2 separate regions of the Homo sapiens genome follow, and region 1 is linked to region 2. Evidence: promoter capture Hi-C in human tissues and cell types (Jung and others, 2019). All regions are on one chromosome and are shown on one strand. The core of a region is centred on a gene start or on the middle of the fragment in contact, and the rest is flanking DNA. Distances in the headings are between cores, read along the strand shown. Region 1 overlaps ATRN (attractin). Region 2 holds the start of ADAM33 (ADAM metallopeptidase domain 33).

Region 1 (4,296 bases), core at 578-3,077, 120 kb before region 2:
ATTGGCTAAGTTATAAGTAGAAATTAAAATGGAAACTTTTTTAACTCAAGAGATTTTAATGGCTTCAAACTGTAATGGGGTATTATAATAATGGCACTAAATGGTTAAAGATGTAGATTAAAAAGTGTAGATTAGCTTTTATTCTCATAAGCAAGTTTAGCCAAGAATAGCCACATTGTAATGTGGCTGAACAAACATTTTCATTTCCTCATTTTTATAGATAGATGGTAGGATGAGGCAACTTTATTTTTCCAAGTCCTTTTATACTATAAAAGATTCATGTGAGGAAGTCCAAGAAAACTGGTGAAGTATTAGAGATGTAAAATATGATTAGTTTTATTTCCCTTTTCCCTTTTTTTATCCTTTTCCTAGTAACTCACTGAAAGGCGCCTTTTGCTAACCCTTAAAATTTTTTTTAATTTATTTTTTACTGAGGTAAAATATACGTATATAATGGTACCATCTTTACCATTTTTAAGTGTACAGTTTGGTGGTAATAAATATATTTACATTCTTTTTTTCCTTCTTCATTCTCCCCCACCAGCCTGCCAGCCTCTGGTAACCACCAGTCTACTCTCTATCTTCATGAGATCCACTTTTTTAGTTCCCACATATGATTGATAATGTGATATTTGTCTCTGTGCTTGGCTTATTTTACTTAACATAATGACCTCCAGTTCAGTCCATGTTGCTACAAAATGACTGGATGTCATTCTTTTTAACGGCTGAATAATGCTCCATTGTGTATATATACACCACATTTTCTTTATCTAATTATCCATTGATAGACACGTTGATTCCATGTTTTGGCTATTGTCAATTGTGCTGCAATTAACATGGGAGTGCAGATATCTCTTTGATATGTTCATTTCCATTCTTTTGGATATATACCCAGTATCGAAATTGTTGGATCATAGGGTAGTTCTATTTTTAGTTTCTTGACTAACCTTTTTTAAGCTGAGAATAATATTGAGCTTTTGTTCTTCTCTGTTCTCAGATTTAATCTTTTCAATGTTTTTAAAAATTTTGTTTGCATTTTTTTCCTAGGATAAAATTTACATGTATGGAGGAAAAATTGATTCAACTGGGAATGTGACCAATGAGTTGAGAGTTTTTCACATTCATAATGAGTCATGGGTGTTGTTGACCCCTAAGGCAAAGGAGCAGTATGCAGTGGTTGGGCACTCTGCACACATTGTTACACTGAAGAATGGCCGAGTGGTCATGCTGGTCATCTTTGGTCACTGCCCTCTCTATGGATATATAAGCAATGTGCAGGAATATGATTTGGGTAGGTATATTTTTTCCAGTAGATGCCTTTTGAACATCAGATTTAAAACCTCTAAGCTTATTATTTTGACTGTTTAGAAAAGTTCAACCTAATCTTGATTCGGTACTTTATCTTGAAACATAGTAAACACTGGGCCCAGGCGTGGTGGCCCACTCCTGTAATCCCAGCACTTTGGGAGGCTGAGGCGGGCGGATCACCTAAGGTCAGGAGTTCAAGACCAGCCTGGCACCAACATGGTGAAACCCTGTCTCTACTAAAAATACAAAAATTAGCCTGTCCTGGTGGCGGGCACCTATAATCCCAGCAACTCAGGAGGCTGAGGCAGGAGAATCGCTTGAACCCGGGAGGTGGAGGTTGCAGTGAGCCAAGATTGCACCACTGCACTCCAGCCTGGGGGACAGAGTGAGACTCCGTCTCAAAACAAACAAACAAACAAACAAACAAAAGCAACATAGTTAACATTGATGTATTACCAGTGAAATGCAGATTATCGATGCTCCTATGTAGTATGTATTTGTTACTGTCAATTTGGTAAGGAGCCAAAGATGACGCAAAGTGCTTTGGGTATTTAAAATAAATAAATAAAAATGGTTCAAAACAATAAATATTGAAGAAAAAAAATATTTGCCCAGCCCTTTAGAGATTGGTTTAGTGGAGTATGATTTACCCTTAATATGAAATATTTCCCTTGGTTAAATTTCATTGTATCTGTTGTTGTGCAGTAGGAATACCAGGTATAATTAACATTTTGTGAAAGTAGGCCTATAAAATATATCTGTATATTGGTCACCAAAGGTTGTAGGGAATTAAATGTTCATTTGAGTGAACATTTTATTTATTGAGACAGGCTCTTGTTCTCTCACACAGGCTGGAGTGCAGTGGCACAATCATAGCTCACTGCAGCCTTGATGCCCTGTCCTCAAGTGATCCTCCCACCTTAGCCTCCCTAGTAGCTGGGACTACAGGTGCGTGCCACCACTCCTGGCTAATTTTTTAATTTTAGTAGAGATGGGATCTTGCTATGTTGCCCAGGCTGGCCAACATAGCAGGCCTCAAGTGATCCTCCCACCTTAGCCTCCCAAAGTGCTGGGATTACACATGTAAGCCACTTCGCCTGGCCCTGAGTGTTTTAAATTTAGTTAATTCTTTTCCTACATGGCATATTAGAACATCAGAACATAGAACAGACTGGAATTGGGCCACATGGCTTTGTTATAAGTTTTAGGTGGCTTTCTTTAAAATATAAAGATAAAAAAGTATATGTATCAGGTCTCCTGAAATCCATTCTCATGCCCTAAGCTCTTTGGACATTTTCAGTAGTAGAGAGGAGGAGCCTGCCATGCTTGCCTTTAACTGTCTTTCCTTTCCAGATAAGAACACATGGAGTATATTACACACCCAGGGTGCCCTTGTGCAAGGGGGTTACGGCCATAGCAGTGTTTACGACCATAGGACCAGGGCCCTATACGTTCATGGTGGCTACAAGGCTTTCAGTGCCAATAAGTACCGGCTTGCAGATGATCTCTACCGATATGATGTGGATACCCAGATGTGGTGGGTACTTTTTCTTGAGCTTTCACTTTAAGGTGTAAATTCTGTAGAGGCAATTGTGGAGAAAATATTGTGCTATCTTTTTGTTTTCATGCCTGGCAGATAATTCTGTTCGGCATTATATATAGAGAAATTGGGAAATAAACAGAGGGTAATAAAGTAGCTAGTATTTATTTTGTTACGTTATTCTGTAATTCTGTAGCAGGTTGGTTAGAAAATACTTAGAGTTTTTTAACAAATGTAAAGCAAATTTGAGTTACGAAATAATGTAATTATAAAGCGATGGTTTCTCCTCTTTTTCCTCACATGTTTGATACCTTGCTATGGGTACTGTTTTATATTCTGTCATAAAAATAATCATTTTTAGTAGCTGTGCAATACTCCATTTTGTGGGTATGCTGAGACTATGCAGGTGAAAGTTTTGGTTTCTTTCTAGTTTTTATGTCATTAAGAAACCATTATGCATTAAGCTTCTGTCAATATTTCACATGATTTCTGCCCAGAAACTGGAATTATATAGCTACGGGGTATGAAGAGTTTAAGGTTCTTAATATATTTTGCCAAAACTCTTACAGGTCTTTAAAATTATCTGTATTTATTGTTGAAAAACTTACTTTTATGTAGGGAAAACTCTGGAAGGATTTGTACATTTGGGTCTGAGGTTAATAAAGTGGTTGTGCTTGCATTAGCAGATACATAAATATTCTTTAAAAACTAACCTTGTATTTATTATTTCTAAATAAACTCAAAAGGACCATTCTTAAGGACAGCCGATTTTTCCGTTACTTGCACACAGCTGTGATAGTGAGTGGAACCATGCTGGTGTTTGGAGGAAACACACACAATGACACATCTATGAGCCATGGCGCCAAATGCTTCTCTTCAGATTTCATGGCCTATGACATTGGTAAGTTTCCCAAAACCATTTTCTCTTCAGGCATCTTTTTGCCTATACTATAAGCAGCATTTAAAAGGAGACTGAAAATATTGCCAGTTCAAAATGATCAGGCCATTTGAAAGAGGTCCAAATGGTATTTTTTATATTCATTTGACTAATGTTACACATCTGGTAAAAATTATTTCTACATTAAATTCTTTTTGAAATCACTCCTGTTAATTGCTTGAATGCTAATTTTTAAGGCTGAGTTGAGGTGTCTAGTCTCTCCTTTGTCATGTTATGCCTACCTGGTAGTGTTACATAGTTGCAACCACCAGCATTGTGTTAAAATTGGTTCACGTATTAGCTTTATCTCATTCCCTAGAAAACTGGTTTCTCACATGGTCTTGGTGTGGCAATATACCAGACCAGAAGAGGGCAGTATTTGTTCATGCAAAGCAAATGCATACCGGATGATCTCTTTCATAAAAATTGTCAGATGTTCATTTTAAACAAATTATTATTTTTTTGATTGTGGTAAAATACACATAAAATTTACCATCCTAACTATATTTAA
Region 2 (4,245 bases), core at 1,582-4,081:
CCCACAAACTCTGGACCCATTTCTGCCTGGTGGGGGTGGGGGTGGCCCAGATCATCCAGGGAGGGAGGGAAAGAGGGAGGTGGGGTGGAGAAAGCTGAAATGACTTCCATGTGTGCGGGCTCACGAGATCCAGATGTCCAAACCCCAGTGCCTTCTTCTGCCCACTTGAGGGGCAGGGGAGGCAGGGGCCTATAGGAGTAGTGACTTGGTGGTTCTGGGGACCCCAGCAAAACTAGAAGCTGTAATGTAGGGAGAGACAAAAGGGCTGGGAGGTTCAGGGCCCCTGTGGAGGGCGGGGAGACATGGCACTGACCGGCTCCTCCAGGCTGACGGTGCGCCAGGGTTGTCCATCCAGGACCCAGTGCGGGGTGACTGGCTGCCCAGGGATATGTCCTGGAGTAAAGACAGAGCACAGGGTGAGGGGGACCTGAGGAACACAGGGGCATGGGACAAAGCAGAGGGAGGGGGGTAGAGGACATCCCCAGGGAGGCACTGGAGGCCTTTTGGGGCAGACTTCACCTTCAACACGCGTGGGCTCAGCCTGGAGAAGGAGGGACGCCCGTGGGCATCCTTGGATCTGAGGAGCTATCAAGGAGGAGGAAAAGAGAAGGCTGGAAAGGGACAGCTCAGCTGGGGACACGGGAGTCCCCTGACCTTTGTCGGGGGGCAGGCTTGGGCTCGGCGATCACAAGGAAGAGGCCAAGGCCGCCAGTGCAGAGGGGAAGGAAAGAGCGCGGCAGCCTTAGGGATTTTTAGATGGGCAGCAGATGCCTTTAGGGTGAGAGATGTACGAAGAGAGGACACTTGTGCCCCCCCCATCATCTGAGAAAAACAACAGCCAGATGTTGCCTTGCGAGGTCCACCTTGCCCAGAGCTCCCTCGGGGACTCTGTCCTGGTGGCAGGGTTTTGGTACCCTGGCCCAGAAGGCCCCTCCTCATCTCTTCAAGGGGAGGGGACGCTTCTGGACGGAGCCTTGGTGCTCCCTGGCCGGGTGTGCCTAAGGGGGCTCTAGGAGGAATCCCAGAGCCAAGCATTACTCAGAGGGCGCCTGGAATGTTCCCCTGGAATGCTCCCAGCCCTCCACTGGCCCCAACCACTCTCACAGGCCCGCCCTGCAGGAGCCAGGCCCCAGGCACCCAGAGCCTGCAGCAGCCCTCCTTCCCCCGGTACCCAGTCCCAGCTCCCAGAACAGACAGCCTCCCCCCTCCACGCAGCCCTGGCCTCAGTCCTGCTGGGCTGATGGCTGCCTGTGGAAGTGACTCAGCTCCTGCTAGGCCACCCCAACTCCTTTTTTCTCCTCCACCTTCTCTCCCAGACTACAAACATCAAAGACCCTTCCTCCAAGAAGCCCTCCTTGATTGGATGAGTGAATTGCCATCAGGCAGATGAGGGCCGAGAGGAGTCTGCCACCTTGGAAAGGAGGCTAGAGGGGCCAGTGCAGGGAGGGCTCTGAGTGGATGTGGGGGAGGGGAAGGAGGGGAGGTCTCTCAGCCCAGAGAGCACTTAACTGAGAGTAGAGAACCAAGCTTTGCTGCTCCTAGGCCTCTAAGGGTTTGGGGAAGAGGTAGGGTGGGCCCGGGCACAGGTGTGGTGTGGGTGCAGTGTGGTGTGTGGGTGCTGTCCACATGGCCTTGCGCGCACGTGCTGGCCACGGGCACCCTGACCCCAATGAGGGAGAGAGGGGCAGAGCTGGAGCTGGAGCTGGAGCTCCGGTGACCGGGTGAATGGGGGTGGAACCCGAGGGAGCCAGGCTGGTATTGGGCACATAGACGCCCCTCTCCCAGGGGTCCCATCACCTCCCCTGACCCCAGGATAGGGCTCAGAGGGGAGGGAGCAGTGGACCGCCTGGGGCCCTCCCCTGGGGCCAGAACAGACCAGGCCCCTGTACCTGTTTGGTCCCCACACAGTGCTGTGGAAGCCACCGCCCAGTCTGCATAGCACAGCCCAGCCCCGCATGCCCCCTCCCTGGTTGCCCTCCCTGTTCCCGGCCAGGCACTTGCTGTGCAGGACTGGCTAATCCTCCCACCCGCTTGCAGAGGTTGTTCCAGCCCCATCTTAACATCTTTGTTTGGAGGGGTTACCCCGAGGAGACAGCTGCAGTCTTCCCAGAGCACTGCTAAACAGACACCTTCTATCTGGAGAGGCCCTTCTCTATCTCACCAAACAAGGCAACAATATAAACAACATACACACTGCCCTGCTGCCCTGGGAGGAGGGACGAGGGGTGAGCAGGGTGGAGGCCACAGCTAGTTCTGCAGCCTGAGAGCAAAGCAGGGACTCTGGGGGACTCTTGGGCATGGGGGCTTCCTAGAGGACGGAGCCCCGCTGAGTCCTAAGGGGTGGAGGAGCAGGAGCGGGTCACACGGTGGCCTGCGGATGGAAGCTGGTTGTGAGAGCGAGAATCCAGGAAGAGGGGGCTACGGCTATGGGCTGGGGGCTGGGCTGCCCCCGAGGGGGAGGGAGCCATGCCCTCTGCTTTGCCAGCGGAGTGGCAGCCGGGCAGTGTGGGCAAGTCCGGGCCCGGGGCCAGCCCAAGCACACTTGAGCGTCCCTGGGCAGGTCCCACGGAGACCCCCCCAAAGAGTCCCCACGCCCTGACCTACTGGCCGTATGGTGCCGGGGCCGTGAGACCCTCCGCGCGCTGACCCGAGCTCTGAGCAGAACCCATCCCCGCCACCACCACCGCGCCTAGCCTGCCCCTCAGGGCGCACCCCGCCCGCGTCCTCACCTTGAAGCACCCCGGCGCCTGGCACTGGCCAGAGCAGCAGCAGTAGTAGCAGCAGCAGCAACGGGGTCCCCCGAGCTCTCCGGGGCCTCCAGCCCATAGCTGTGAGCTCCTCGGCCTCTAGGCAGCGGCTCGCAACTCCGGCTCCGCCCAGGCTGGATTGCGGCCGACCCGTGCCCGGTGCAGCCTCAGGCCGCCGCCTTCGGACCTTCCCGCCCCCACCTCCCACCGCCCGCCCTCGCTCCCGCCTCCCCTCCCCGCCAACCCCGCTCGGAGCCTGGCCAGGGGCCCCGACGGCGCGCGCCATGGGGGAGCCGGGTCGCCACTCCCGGACCGCCGCCCCTCGAGGGGGTGGAGCTGGGCGGAGGAGGGAATCCGTGCGGCCCCTCGGATGACCGGCCCGAGCCGTCCCTCCCCGTCGGTCTCAGAGGGCCTCTACTCCTGAGAGGAGGAGAGAACCGCTGGGAAGGTTCTTGGAGGACCGCGGCGTGGTGGGATGAGGCGGTGGGCAAAGGCCGCCTCTCGCTGCTGAAGTTGGCCCCAGGAGCGCGATCTTCCGTGGTCTCCTGGGGCCGATCTCTGTCCCCTCCTTGCTACCCGTCCTGCCCCGAGGGTGCCCTGGCGGAGGTTGAGTCGGGTCATCCACCTGCACTGGGTGCCCCCAAGGATAGGAAGGTTCAGGCAACCGGCTGCCGCTGTCTTGGGGGCTTCATTGCTGGGCAAAGGCGATGCAGCAGACGGAGACAACCTTTCTTCCCTGGCGGTGGCCAGAGGGCAGAATTGCATAAAAGCTGCAGACTCCCAGGCCTGGGAGACCCTTTCGGCCTCAGTAACATCTGTTTCATGTTTTAAACTTTTGTTTTCCTACTCGGTGCAAATTTGGATGAGATGTTAACTTTTTTTTTTTTTTTTTTTTTGAGATGGAGTCTCCCTCTGTCGCCAGGCTGGAGTGCAGCGGCGCGATCTTGGCTCACTGCAACCTCCGACTCCCTGGTTCAAGCGATTCTCCTGCCTCAGCCTCCCGAGTAGCTGGGACTACAGGCGCGCGCTACCACCCCCAGCTAACTTTTGTATTTTTAGCAGAGACGAGGTTTCACCATTTTGGCCAGGATGGTCTCAATCTCCTGATCTCGTGATCCACCCGCCTCGGCCTCTCAAAGCGCTGGGATTACAGGCATGAGCCACCGCGCCCGGCCGGAGATGTTAACTTTTAAGCAAATCTTTTTTTTTTTTTTTTTTTTTTGAGACAGAGTTTCTCTCTTGTTACCCAGACTGGAGTGCAATGGCATGATCTGGGCTCACTGCAACCTCTGCCTCCCAGATTCAAGTGATTCTTCTGCCTCAGCCTCCCGAGTAGCTGGGATTACAGGCATTCGCCACCACGCCTGGCTAATTTTGTATTTTTAGTAGAGATGGGGTTTCTCCATGTTGGTCAGGCTGGTCTCGAACTCCCGACCTCAGGTGATCTGCCCGCCTCGGCCTCCCAAAGCGCTGGAATTACAGGCGTGAGACACCGCAC

The links. Contacts are between HindIII fragments. The study calls those that stand out against the background at their distance.
Region 1: a contact is called between a fragment that was not itself captured here and the fragment with the promoter of ADAM33 in region 2, in 3 of the 25 tissues and cell types used here (dorsolateral prefrontal cortex, lymphoblastoid cells and mesenchymal stem cells).

Annotation. Positions count from the first base shown.
Region 1 is chr20:3,559,615-3,563,910 of GRCh38, forward strand. ATRN (attractin) reads left to right here. Exons shown (of 29, transcript NM_139321.3): 8 at 1,048-1,291; 9 at 2,662-2,845; 10 at 3,595-3,749. Among named protein-coding and RNA genes, the nearest start is that of ATRN, 91 kb to the left of the region's middle. The HindIII fragment of the contact is 4,783 bases long and covers 1-4,219 here.
Region 2 is chr20:3,679,179-3,683,423 of GRCh38, forward strand. It overlaps ADAM33 (ADAM metallopeptidase domain 33), which reads right to left and starts at 2,832. Exons shown (of 22, transcript NM_025220.5): 1 at 2,730-2,832; 2 at 314-393. The coding sequence starts at 2,826. RefSeq lists an enhancer at 2,257-3,150. The HindIII fragment of the contact is 20,528 bases long and covers 760-4,245 here.